2 separate regions of the Homo sapiens genome follow, and region 1 is linked to region 2. Evidence: promoter capture Hi-C in human tissues and cell types (Jung and others, 2019). All regions are on one chromosome and are shown on one strand. The core of a region is centred on a gene start or on the middle of the fragment in contact, and the rest is flanking DNA. Distances in the headings are between cores, read along the strand shown. Region 1 overlaps LRRCC1 (leucine rich repeat and coiled-coil centrosomal protein 1). Region 2 holds the start of E2F5 (E2F transcription factor 5).

Region 1 (7,311 bases), core at 994-3,493, 46 kb after region 2:
ATTGCTGGTGGCTTTGATAGCGCAATGCTAGTAGAGCAATAGAGATAAAAGCCAGATGAGAGCAGGTTGGAGAAGAGAGAAGTAGAGAAATCAAAGACAGCAAATGCACAATTTTGATATGTTCTGTTGTAAATGGAAGCAGAGAAACAACATAGTAGTCAAAGGAAGAAATGGAATCAAGAGAGTTTTCTTAAGATAAGAGAAATCACAGCATGTTTGTATGCTGAAGGGAATGATCCAATATAGCGGAAAAACTGAAGATGTAAGAGAGTAAGAAAGAAGACTTACTGAAGCCATATCTTTAAGTAGGCAAGAGGAAATGGGATCTACTATACGTTTGGTGGGACTGGTCAGAGGAGCACAATTATTCCTCTATAGCAGGGGTTACCAAACTTTTTCTAGAAAGTACCAGACAGTAAACTGTTAGGCTATACAGGCCAGGCCATATGAACTCTGTTGAAAGTACTCAACTACGGCTGGGCACAGTGGCTCACGCCTGTAATCCCAGGACTTTGGGAGGCCGAGGCAGGCGGATCATCTGAGATCAGGAGTTCGAGACCAGCCTGACCAACATGATGAAATCCTGTCTCTACTAAAAATACAAAAATTAGGCGGGCGTGGTGGCCTGTGACTGTAGTCCCAGCTACTTGGGAGGCTGAGACAGCAGAACTGCTTGAATCTGGGAGGCAGAAATTGGAGTGAGCCAAGATCATGCCACTGCACCATTCCAGCCTGGGCAACAGAGCGAGACTCTATCTGAAACAAAAAAAAAAAAAAAAAAAAAAAAAAAAGAAAGTACTCAACTGTGCTTTTGTAATGGAAAAGCAGCCATAGATAATATGTAAAAAATGAGCATGGCTCTGTTCCAAAAAAGCTTTACTTTAAAGAGAAATAGGCAGTGGGCCATATTTGGCCTGGGGGCTTTAGTTTTGCCAATCCCTGCTCTACAGTAATAGGAGGGAATTCAGGTTCTCAGATTCCTATTCCAGTGCTCTATAACATTTATAATCTTACTTAGTTTTTGCAAGAGCAGTAAATAGTAGCTATTATTTATTTGAGGAAACTAAGGCCTCTAAGAATTTATATATTTTACTTAAGATTATGAAGCCAACATTTAATACAGCTATGTTTCTAAAACAAGTCCTCTCATCAAACCATATCTTACTGATTCTGTTTTCAATAAAAAGCTGGGTGCCAATTCTTACATCTTGAAATCTTCTGGCTTCAACAGTTAAAGCAATACGGAATTCATTTTCTAAATCCATATACTGCTGGCTTAACACGTCAATTTTCTCTTGGTATTCTTTTATCATTTGCTCATGCTTTTTCTCTTCTTTGGCTATTTCTTTAGCTAAGGCATCCTGGAAGTCAGCATCAGTAAAAAACTCCCTTGTTTCAAGTTCCTTCCTGGAGTGAAAAACATATAAAGATAAAAGGATGATACTCACCTGAAAAGAAACATTTTAAAGGTCTTTACGTAGTTCTTAATATTCTATATTCAGTATTGTTAATTCAGTATCAGCCTCTCACTTTCAAACGCAGTAATTGGGCATAGATAGGTACAAATAATATGAGTTTTATTTGATTGTGTATTTAATAGTGATGGAGATAAGGGAAGTATGTCAAATCTTAACTTCATGAGATAGTTCAGAATCATTCTATGGCTTCAGAAATTCTTCAGATGCATTTGCATAAGATGCTTCACTGTATCTACTACTTTGGCCGAGTCTTTGACTTGCAATAAATACAGTCTGATTAGCACTGGTGGTTTGTTAATAGAAAAAGTCAGTTAAAGTGTAAAATTATTTACTAATCTTTTGATATTGGGCCAGTTAGTTCATTCTTTACGGTTCTCCACTACTTTTCTTGCATTACTCAAACTCATAATGTGAAACCCATTATTTCCAGTTTTTGGTTTCTTTAAACTGGAATGAAACTAAGTAAAGGAAACTAAGTACAAAATTCCTGTAAAGGAAACAAAGTACAAAATTCTAGATTTTTGTGATTATTTTCCCCCAATCTTTTATAATTGTCTCATCTATACAAGATAACAATTTTCCCCAGAGCACCAAAATTTATGTAGACACAAAACAAAACAGGTTTCGGAATAAATACAATTAACATATGATAATCATACAATTTCACTGGTAGGATAGTAAATAGATAACTGAAATAGATAAACTGAAAATGTTGAAATTATTACAGATTCTGTAGAGCAAGAGTTGAGAAACTACAGCCCATCAGCCAAATGTGACCTACTGCCTTTTTCTTTGTAAATACACTTTTATTGGAACACAGCCATGCCGTTCATTTATGTATTATCTATGGCTACTTTTGTGCTACAAAGGCAAAGTTAGGTATGGCCTGCAGAGCCTGAAATATTTTCTATGTGACCCTTTACAGAAAAAGTTCACTGACCCCTCCTTCAGAGGAATAAAGAATACTGATTAATTTACTAATTAATTAACTTGGGGGTCAATTAAAAATTTTCTCTCTATATAAAGACCAACTTTTGGCTGGGTTTGAAGAAATGAACAATAAGCTATATTGTTATAAACCTATACCTCAAATGCTGATAACAAAGGCAACTATTCATTTTTTAGCTACTAGTTCTTGCTATAGGGCTGATTCTAATGTATACATACATGAACACGGCATTTTCCACTAACTAATTCTGTCAGACTTCACCAATGCTCAATCACTATCTTTAAATACTGGTGGTGGGGGCCAGGCGCGGTGGCTCATGCCTGTAATCTCAGCACTTTGGGAGGCCGAGTGGGGCAGATCATGAGGTCAGGAGATCGAGACCATCCTGGTTAACATGGTGAAACCCCATCTCTACTAAAAATACAAAAAAAAAAAAAATTAGCCAGCATGGTGGCGGGCGCCTGTAGTCCCAGCTACTCGGGAGGCTGAGGCAGGAGAATGGCGTGAACTCGGGAGGCAGAGCTTGCAGTGAGCCGAGATTGCGCCATTGCACTCCAGCCTGGACGACAGAGCAAGACTCCGTCTCAAAAAAAAAAAAAAAAAATACTGGTAGTGGGGAACCAGTAGCTTTCTTTTTCTTTTTTTAAATGCCAATACATTCCTGATACATTTTTCATTTACCTGTGTTCCTGTTCTTTCAATGCAAGAAGTTGATGAAGTTGTTGCGCTTGTTCTCTTTCTCGATGAAGGGAAGTTCTAAGTAAGTATATTTCTCTATCGGCAGCTGAAGCTTTGAGTTCCACCTCTTGGATCAGTCTTATCTGAGTAAAATACCCACAATTACATTATTTAGATAATAGTCTCCCCTGCTATTTTAATGTCAGTTTCCATAAGTACCTTTTAAATGACAGTGTCCGGTGACTAAGTTGATTTTCAAACTTTAATAAATTAATGATGTTACAGTCACACAAAGTGCAGCCTTGGAAGGAACAAATACACTAGCATTAACTATTGCTTATTTGCATCACAGATTTTAATGATAATTTCCATTCAGAAAGCATGAAAATGAAATTCCTTCAATCACCTGAAAGCCTTTTAAAAAGCCAGCTCTCTCAGAATAAAAGCCTAACCACCTGCAACATTTCCATCAACTTTTCTTTTTAATTGCTTTGTGTTAAGAGCTAGTAGTCTTAATTTAGACATAATTCAACAGGCTATGTGACCGTTAAATTAACAGCAATTTAATTTTTGCATATGGCCTTACATCTTTTAGGTTTTCTAGGTAGTATAATTTGTTTCACGATAGAAGCTATGAATTTGTGTTAATCTGTGCTACTCATATATTAAAATAGAGAAATACCTGTGCTGCCTGCTGCTGCCTTTTTTGTCTCTCCATTTTTTCTAATGTTTTTTCGAGGGTTCTTAAGTGTTTAAGGTGATCCTCTTGTTGATCTTTTGCTTTCATTAGTTCAACAGTCAGTTTTTTAATTTCATTTTGAAGTTTGTGAACCATAACTTCGAGTTGTCCTTTGGAATTTCTCTCTCTAAAAATAATTTCCTTTAGCCTAAAGCAGAAGTTATATGTGGTGTTAAGTATATTACACATATAAAAATGATAAAATTGTTGACTTCAATGAGAGTACTCTCTGAACTGGTCTTCCTTTGTTCATGCTCTCAACTCCTGTTTGATATGCTATATGAAAGCGTGCTAGACTGTATATGGGTAGGGGCAGGGAAAGCCACAGAGAAACAGAAATGGAACAATCATCTAAGCAACAGTTAAGGGCCTAAAGAAAGGTAACAGTTTTGGGATACAGAGGAGATAGTTCAACATCTTTTAAGATGATATCAATATCAATTGATGAATAAAAGTATCAATAAAGATGGTAATATCAACTGGTTGTGGGATAGGAGAAAGAGAAAGGAAGCAAAAAACAAAGATTCCTAGATTTCTATAGTTTTGGTGACTGACTGGATGCTGGATGGGGCACCATTTATTAGGGCAAGAAATATAAAATAAGGAAGAAGAATGAATCCACCTGAGGCCATGGTGATCTTAAGAAACTTATGAGGAATACAGGCAAGGCATTTTTAGTAGATAATTAGATGAACAGATCTGGTCATCAAGGAGGTTTGGATAATAAAGATACCATAGTAGGTAAGATTCATTTTTTGAAATTGTATATACTCACAGCATGGCACCCACATGCCAGACCCTGCATTAGGGATACAGAGTCCCTACCAAGGCACATAAGGGAACAGGGAGATTGGTAAGGATCTAATCTCAAACAAACATGTGGTGGTGGGGGGGGTGGGGGGGTGGCACAGATAAAAGAAGAATCAGAAAAGATTGATTTTTCATGAGAAAAATGAATACATAACTTGGGAAACACGGGCACAACAATAGGTTAAGTAAGAAGAAAGATAAAGTGTGCCCAAAGTCTTCCAGTTTAAATGGACTTTGGCTAGCAGCCCTAGACACAGCGTCCTCTAATATCCCACTAAATACCTAGAATACAGAATAAAGTAAAAATTCATACACATATAACTGAAAACAAAGGATAAGAGAATGCCAAAATTTGGGAATAATTTCAATTACAAGGCAAATGGAACTAAATTGAAATTAAAAACAACTCCTACAACACTCAGGCTTTGCCTCATGAAACTGCTCCATTCTGAAAAAAGGAAGACATATCTTTTCTCTTCTACTATCTGTCCATGACTCAGTCACAAGATCTCTATAAATCTGTCACTACATAATGTTGGTTACTCATGCACTTACTGAAAGCAGGAGTGCTGTTTTTCTGAGGTAGTCAGAGCACTCTTAATTGAGACATCCTGTTCCCTCATCCATACCCAGTAGCTTCTTGTGTCAATTCAGACAGACATTTATAAAACACAAATAAGGCAGGAAGTTGGTGGGTAGTGGTAGAAGGGCTAGTGATAACATAACGCATCACAGCTTTATAATTATAGAGGTTCTCATAGCATGCATGTTGCGTATTAGAATTGTCCTTATACTCCACAGGTACAACCTATCAGAGAAACATGCAGTGGGGTAGAAAACACCACGTCAGTATCACAAAAGTGCCTAAAAGAAATCGGGAACTGGGCTGTGAACTGTGTACATCAACTTATCCAAATCAGATTTTAGAAGGGGAATTATCCACTGCACAATCAGACAAGAAATGGAACCAAGAGCAACTTCCCAAAGTGTGTTAGCAAATGTCAAGTCTAAAAACCTAGTGCTCATTCAAGGGTAAGAAACCATAAGAAACTCTAAACATGTTATAATCATTTGAGGAAAAGCATGACGTTAGAAATAATTACAGGAAACAGAAGAAAAAAAGTTATTGTAATTTAAAAAACTGGTATTTTCACAGAATGAAATGACAGACCTGTATTAAAGAATGCAATACAACAAAACAAAACAAAACAAAAAACCCAGATAAAATGGGAGACGTAATGGTGAGGATAGAATAAAAACATCAGAATTAAGAAACTGGGCTATATGATACAAAAGCCCATTGCAGAAGATAAGTATGTGATGAGATCAAATATGACCCATGAAGCTTAAAGAAAAAGGCTGCCAATGCCTGCCCTTTACAGAATCTGGCACTTTACATAAAGTTTGTTAATCACTGCTCTAGTCTCTTGCTGTTCTTTACTTATAATATTTATCTGACACCTTCCTGCTTGAGGGCTCAAATACATGTACCTGAATTTCTTGTTGATATAACAAGCTAATAAAGTGCTAAATTGTCTAATAAAATTAGTTCAAATCAAACTAAAACCACATACATTGTTGTTGATTGAACCACACTGAAACTAATGTATTCCAGTTCTAAAGTCAGTATTGTTTATGCTATGAGGTATCTTCAGGTTTATTAATTTCTTTTTACCTATCTGTGGTAAGTAGAGCCAGACTATGAATATCCTCTTTTTCATTTGCATGTTTATGCAGCTCATCAATATAATCCATGAGTTTATTTTCGGCTTGCTCAGCTCTCCATCTCTTCTCTCTCTCTTGGTCTAGCTGTTCAACAAGGGACTGAAAGAAAACAACAAAGTTATGTGAACTTAGAAAAGTTACCTAACTTCTCACAGCCTCAATTTTCCCATTTATAACAGGGGAATAATAGTACCTACTTCAAAGAGCTACAGTGAAACTTTTTATTTTATTTTTTTGAGTCTCACTCTGCCACCCAGGCTGGAGTGGAGTGGCATGATCTCAGCTCACTGCAAACTCCACCTCCTGGATTCCAGCAATTCTTCTGCCTCAGCTTTCCGAGTAGATGGGACTACAGGCATGTGCCACCAAGCTTGGCTGTTTTTTTGTATTTTTAGTAGAGATGGGGTTTCACCACGTTGGCCAGGCTGGTCTCGAACTCCTGACCTCAAGTGATCCACCCACCTCGGCCTCCCAAAGTGTTGGGATTACAGGTGTGAGCCACTGCGCCGGGCCAAAAATTATGTTACTGGTAGCAAAGCATGTAGGTAAGTGCAGAACAGTGCCTGCTACATAATAACCAATCAATAAATGTTAGCTGCTATTATTATGCCATAGTAGATAAGATTCCTTTTTTGAAATAGTATATACTCATAGCATGGCACCCACATGCCAGACTCTGTATTAAGGAAACAGAGTCCTTACCAAGGCACGCAAGGGAATATAAAGATTGGTAAGGATCTAATCTCGAACAAACTTGGGGCGGGGGTTGAATCAGAAAAGATTGATTTTTCATGAGAAAAATGAATATGTAACTTGGGAAACACAGGCACAATAGGTTAAGTAAGAAGAAAGATGAAGTGTGTCCAAAGTCATAATGATAATTATTATTTTTCAATATTAAAGCCTCTATAGTTGAGAATAAGGGGAGGAAA
Region 2 (6,829 bases), core at 3,867-6,366:
ACATGTAAAATGTTTTGCATATGGTAAGCTCTTGATGTATATTAGCTATTAACAGCATAAACTGGCAAACCACGTAGCTTGAAATAACCATGATATAATTTCTTATCTCACTGGAATAAAGAAATAATAACTATCCCACCTCCACTATTGTAAATGAGACTATATGGTGTAGGTGAAGCTGCAGAGATAATGAATAAACTTTCCTCACATCACTTTCAATGTCTTTCTATTGCTTCCTAATTGTTAAGTTATACTACAACAGCTTTATTAAAATTGATTTTCTATGTTGAGCCATGTTTTTTTTTTTTGAGACACAGTTTCGCTCTTGTCGCCCAGGATGGAGTGCAGTGGTGCGATCTCGGCTCACTGCAACCTCCGCCTCTTGAGTTCAAGCGATTCTCCTGCTTCAGCCTGCCAAGTAGCTGGGATTACAGGCGCCTCCACGACGCCTGGCTAATTTTTTTGTATTTTTAGTAGAGACGGGGTTTCGCCATGTTGGGCAGGCTGGTCTCGAACTCCTGACCTCAGGTGATCTGCCCGCCTCGGCCTCTCAAAGTGCTGGGATTACAGGCGTGAGCCACCACGCCTGACCGAGCCATGTTTTCAATTAGTTATATTATTAAGAAGAAATGGCCAGGCGCGGTGGCTCACGCCTGTAATCCCAGCACTTTGGGAGGCCGAGGTGGGAGGATCACGAGGTCAGAAGATCGAGACCATTCTAACACGGTGAAACCCCACCTCTACTAAAAATACAAAAAAAAAAAAAACAAAACTAGCCGGGCGTGGTGGCGGGCGCCTGTAGTCCCAGCTACTCAGGAGCCTGAGGCAGGAGAATGGCGTGAACCCAGGAGGCGGAGCTTGCAGCGAGTGGAGATCGCGACACTGCACTCCAGCTTGGGTGACAGAGTGAGACTCCCGTCTCAAAAAAAAAGAAGAAATGTGTCACTAAGATACAACCTTACGTTCTTATTCTCCAGCAGCATAAGATAGAAAAGAAATAGCATCTATGTGGTCTAGGATACTTTATGATATCCAAAATATTTGGATATTTTACTTGAAGTTTGATATACTTTTTTATTCTTTGGGATATTCAAAAACTGTTTCTTCAAGGCCGGAAGCGGTGGCTCACAGGGGAGACCAAGGTAGGCAGATAGCTTTGAGCTCAGGAGTTCGAGACCAGCCTGGGCAATATGGCAAAACCCTGTCTCTACTAAAAATATAAAAATAAGCCAGGCATAATGGTGTACGCCTGTAGTGCCAGCTACTTGGTAGGCTGAGGCAGGAGAATCACTTGAGCCCGGGAAGTGGAGGTTACAATGAGCTGAGATTGTACCACTGCACTCCAGCCTGGGCGACAGAATAAGACCCTGTCTCAAAAAACAAACAAGACCGGCCGGGCGCGGTGGCTCACGCTTGTAATCCCAGCACTTTGGGAGGCCGAGGCGGGCGGATCACGAGGTCAGAAGATCGAGACCATCCTGGCTAACATGGTGAAACCCCGTCTCTACTAAAAATACAAAAAAAATTAGCCGGGCGTGATGGCGGGTGCCTGTAGTCCCAGCTACTCGGGAGGCTGAGGCAGGAGAATGGCATGAACCCGGGAGGCGGAGCTTGCAGTGAGCCGAGATTGCGCCACTGCACTCCCGCCTGGGCCACAGAGCGAGACTCTGTCTCAAAAAAAAAAAAAAAAAAAAACAAGACCAACCAAAAAACCATATATATATATATATATATATATATATATATATATATATATATGTATAGTTTCTTTAACTGCGTTTAAAAGTCAAGTGTATAACTTAAAAGTTTCAAAAAAATTATGCTGAAATATGCCCCCACCAAAGTAAGAATACAAGAGAAAATGTGTCTTTATAATTTCAAATTAGAGGAAATTTATAATTGTCAGTGTGAGTCCATCTTTAATATGTATTATCAAACATGTCTTAATGGGCTGGGTATGGTGGCTCACGCCTGTAATCCCAGCACTCTGGGAGGCTGAGGCAAGCAGATCATTTGAGGTTGGGAGTTCGAGACCAGCCTGGCCAACATGGTGAAACCCCTTCTCTACTAAACATACAAAAATGAGTCGGGCATGGTGGCGGGCACCTGTAATCCCAGCTACTTGGGAGGCTGAGGCAGGAGAATCGCTTGAACCCGGGAGGTGGAGGTTGCAGTGAGCAGAGATCTGCCACTGCACTCCAGCCTGGGTGACAGAGCAAGACTCAGTCTCAAAAAAAAAAGGCTTTAACGATCTTTTACTATGGTGTATAATAAGAAATATCATTGGAAAGATTTCAATGTAAGATTTTTGGCCGGGCGCGGTGGCTCACGCCTGTAATCCCAGCACTTTGGGAGGCCGAGGCGCGTGGATCACAAGGTCAGGAGATCGAGACCATCCTAGCTAACACAGTGAAACCCTGTCTCTACTAAAATTACAAAAAAATTAGCTGGGTGCGCTGGCGGGCGCCTGTAGTCCGAGCTACTCGGGAGGCTGACACAGGAGAATGGCGTGAACCCGGGAGGCGGAGCTTGCAGTGAGCCCAGATCGCGCCACTGCACTCCAGCCTGGGCGACAGAGCAAGACTCCGTCTCAAAAAAGAAAAAAAAAAGATTTTTACATATATAAGTATATATAAATAAATGAAAAATATACGTAAAATACATAAAACATATGTTTTTCATACATATATATGAAAACTAAAGACATTCAAACTCTTTTCTAGGAGTATGAAGTCATTAATATAATGAGACAGTGTTATTGTAGAAACCTTTGAATTTTTAGGAGAGTTCCAGAATGAATAAAGCAATTATTGTCATGAAATACCAAACTTTACATCCTACTCACTGCCTCTGTGACTTCTGTAGGGCAATTATATAGCCACAGATGAAACAGGAGGAAGCTAAAGAATTTCAAGTCAAGAAAGGGCAAAGTTCCACCATATCCTGAGGCAAGCTGAGGGAGAAGCCCTCAAAGTCCAGCCGTCAGAGTTCAGTTTTACCTGGAAAACCCCAAACTTCCCTGATTTTCTTACACCAAAGTCACAGGCTACAGCTGAATTTCTAGATTTTGAACAGCAGTTTGCCACCTGTGCTTTGTAACATTCCTGGCTTTCTCTGATAACTTCATGACTTCCTGTGAAATTCTTTAAACAGAATCCATTTTAATTCACTACAATTTAAATACTACACATGCCATAAATCACTTTCAGGGAGAGAAAGGAAGAAGGGGCTGTGGTGGAAAAAAGAGAACAAGGAATTTCCAGAGGTGGGAAAAAAATTCCAGGAATAACATATCAAAAAGAAAATAGTAGAAATTACTTACCAAAATGCAAAATATGTGCAGCATGCCTCAGTTGTATGAAGTTGAACAATTTAGGTAATTCAGTTCAACAATCACTGATTGAACACCAACTACATCCAGGGAAAGGAGAGGGCACTGAAAAGATCTACTTCCCCTTGGGCTACACTGGAGGAGGGCCTCTAGCAGAAGAGTTGGCCCCTGCAAGTCTTGGTCCTTACATTCAGGGAGCTGCCACTGCTTTATGCAGAGCCTTGAGGATGCAGTGACACTCTCAAGCCAGGTAAGGTGGTCCAGGCACTCCCCTGGGAGCTGGGGCCAATCCTCCAAGTAAGGCCACATTTAGGGAGTCAAAGGGGATTTGCAGTGATTATTGGGCAGTTAGTGTTTTTTGTTTGTTTGTTTCTAAAACTTTAGTTCTTAAACTTCGCGCGGAGTGACCACATTCTCATTATCCTGAGCGCTGTTGAATTCTTCCAAATCCTTCCTAGATCGGTTAAGTCATTCTGTATGACAGAACAGCTTTTGATGCCTGCTCCTGTTTGAAAAATCTGAACGCTGTAAAGGACGACGCAGGGAGAGAGTTTACTGAGCACTTCCACCTCTTTGGGTGAAAGTTGTAAAATATCCCCTTTTCGTGTGACAGCAGATCTCACTTTTGGAAACCCATGACACATGCCAAATGAAGTCACAAATCAAATACCCCTCCTAACTATCAGGGTGATGAAAGAAGTGCACAAGGAAGATTTAATACTATTTTATCGGGGAGGGGCGTGGAAAGAAGTACTCTTTTTTTTTTTTCTTTCATCTGGTAGAGATGGCAGACTGGGTTTTGTTTTTCCTCCTTTTTATTTAAACTACAGGAACATGGTTCCAACTGGAATCGCCTATTAAAACCATCCATTCTTAACAGCAAAATCGATATCCACGGTGTCTCCGGGCAAAGCGCCCGTTACCCCGTGAGCCTCTGCCACAGGTGGACGCAGAGCAACAGACACTCGGTTACCCTCAGGTCCCTGCGCCCGGAGACAGAAGCCACGCGGGCGCGCTCGAGGTCCTGGGCTCTTTGTCGAGAGCCCAGCGTGGCGCCGGGCCCCATTGGTTACGCGTCCGCTCGGTGCCATCCTGGTCCCTCGTCCCTCCCCCATCCCGGCGTCCACGACCCGGGCGCAGGCCACATGGTCCTCGGATTGCCCGGTCCCGGGTCCCCGCAAGGCGCGTCTACACCACGCCGCTAGACCCACGCGGCGAGGGGCTGGGCTTCCCCGGGGGCCACGGGTTCCGAAGTCCGCCCCCGTCCCCGCCTCCGGAGCTCACCGCTTTGAGATCCAGAACGCCGTCCTTGGCCTCCTGCAGCAGCGACACGAACTTGGTAGTGAGCAGCCCCAGGCTCTTCTCGTGCCTGCTGCTGCCGCCCCCGGCGCCCCCGAGCTGCGGCGGCGGGGGCGGCTGCGGGGCTTGCGCCTGCGGAGGCTGCGGCGGCGGCCGCTGGCCCTGCCCCTGCCCTGCCGGCGCCTGCTGGCCCGAGCTCGCGGGCTCTGCCGCCGCCATCGCGTCCCGGCCCCGCGGTGGTCGGGCCCCCGCGCACTTTCGCTCGCCGGCCCCGCCCGCGGCCACCTGCCGGGTCGGCTCCGCTGCGGCCGCTTCCCCGCCCGCCGAGAGCGGTAGTGCGGGTCGCTGGCTGCTGCAAACAACAGGTGTGCGGCGCCCACGGGAGTCTGGGCCGCTTGTCACGCCGGGCCTCCGCCCCCTCCCCAAGCCCGGGGAAGCGTGAATGAGGCCCACGACCGAGGGGGGAGGGGTGGAAACGAGGAGAAGGGGCTGCGAGGGGTGGGGACCTGAGTTTAAATGGCAGGAAGTGACGCCGCCGCCCGCCGTTGCCTAGAAACACATTTTTCTGTAGGAAGGAGGAGCGCACGAGGAGGAGGAGGGGTGTTGGCGCGTGTGTTTCACACTCGCCTCCCTGGCGTTCGCGAGCTGACCCGAGGAGTGGTAATCTCACGCGGCAAAGCAGGGAGGAAGAAAAAAAGGAGACAAAAGAAAAAAAGACTTTTATCTGGGCAGAAAGTCACAATGCCTAGCGGCCAAACGTTTGTGAGCGGTGAAGTTGGTTGACTGCTCAAGTTTGCAGAGCTTCAGCAGTAGGTTACTTTCTCTGGACGGTTTCTGCTATCTTTGCTCTTTTCGAGCTCTAGCATCGTTTGCAAATATTTCAATGACTTGGACCAAGTGCAGAGTTTTACTTCATAGCTCACCCTTTTAGATTCGGAGTACAGAAAAAGGCATCGTGGAGTTTTAGGGTTGGTTTTCATCAATCCTTTCCAAGGCCTTTACTTTCTACATGGAGAAACGTGTAGAGGGAGAGGTTGTGAATTGCCAAAGACATGCCGTTAGATTCCAGATCTCCTGTGTTTGACCAAAGTTCTTGACCAAAGTTCTTAATATCTTATTTGAACCAAATTATATTGTATTTGGAATATTGGGTAGCCACAGGCCCTTGGACTTCAGTGATATTCCAAACTATTGATGGCAAATGACATTATGGAGATCTGAGTAAAAGAAAGTCGTTGGGATTTTTTCCTCATTATATTACAAACTCTTGAGAATCCAGACTAAATTTTAAATGACTTGTTGTCACACTCAACACTTTGAATATAGTAGACAATAAAGATTAGGCGAATGAGACCAGGCGCGGTGGCTTACGCCTGTAATCCCAGCACTTTGGGAGGCCGAGGCAGGCAGATCATTTGAGATCAGGAGTTCGAGACCAACCTGGCCAACATGGTAAAACCCCGTCTCTACTAAAAATACAAAAATTAGCGGGGGGTGGTGGTGCCCGCCTATAGTCCCAGCTACTCCAGAGCCTGAGGCAGGAGAATCTCTTAAACCCAGGAGGCAGACGTTGCAGTGTTGCAGTGAGCCGAGATGCCACCACTGCACTTCAGCCTGGGCAACAAAGCAAGACTCTGTCTCAAATAAAAAAAAAAAAGATTAGGTGAATGAAAATTCTATATGGCAATAATTAATCAAGAAGATTTCATGCAAGAAAGATTTTGCTTAATTTTAAGTAACAATAAACTAACAAAAAAGGTCACTGAAGCGACATCAAATACAACAGCATTAACTAGTAAAGCTGAACACACCATTTATAACACATCATAGGCACAGAACTTTATAACCTTTATTAATAACCTATTCATAATAACCTTTATTTTAATCAAATCTATAAACAAAACTTAAAATTGAAAATCTGAAGTAAAACATGAAAAATTCAGTTGATACAACCATTTTCCAACAACCTATCCAAGAAAGGCTATCTTTATTTGATTTGACATGGGACACATCATTGACAAGTTTTGCAAATTTATTTTATTGATTATTGTCAAGTAGTATTTCTTAGAACATACTGAATTAGGAAGATTCTAATTTGTTTTTAACTTTATAACAGAACATTGTGTTATATGTGCAGGGACAGGAATTAATAACACTAAATGTATTAATATTTTTAAAACTTACACTTCTATGGTGTCT

What was found. The method cuts DNA at HindIII sites, captures the fragments that hold promoters and counts their contacts. A contact is called where the count stands out against the background at its distance.
Region 1: a fragment that was not itself captured here is called in contact with the fragment with the promoter of E2F5 in region 2 in 1 of the 25 tissues and cell types used here (stomach).

What each region holds. Positions count from the first base shown.
Region 1 is chr8:85,125,856-85,133,166 of GRCh38, reverse strand. LRRCC1 (leucine rich repeat and coiled-coil centrosomal protein 1) reads right to left here. Exons shown (of 19, transcript NM_033402.5): 9 at 6,330-6,478; 10 at 3,788-3,992; 11 at 3,109-3,248; 12 at 1,206-1,407. Among named protein-coding and RNA genes, the nearest start is that of LRRCC1, 22 kb to the right of the region's middle. The HindIII fragment of the contact is 4,731 bases long and covers 1-4,608 here.
Region 2 is chr8:85,175,441-85,182,269 of GRCh38, reverse strand. It overlaps E2F5 (E2F transcription factor 5), which reads right to left and starts at 5,116. Exons shown (of 8, transcript NM_001951.4): 1 at 4,616-5,116. The coding sequence starts at 4,849. It overlaps E2F5-DT (E2F5 divergent transcript), which reads left to right and starts at 5,229. Exons shown (of 3, transcript NR_134311.1): 1 at 5,229-5,439. RefSeq lists silencers at 4,256-4,645, 4,656-5,185 and an enhancer at 5,286-5,455. The HindIII fragment of the contact is 23,089 bases long and covers 1-6,829 here.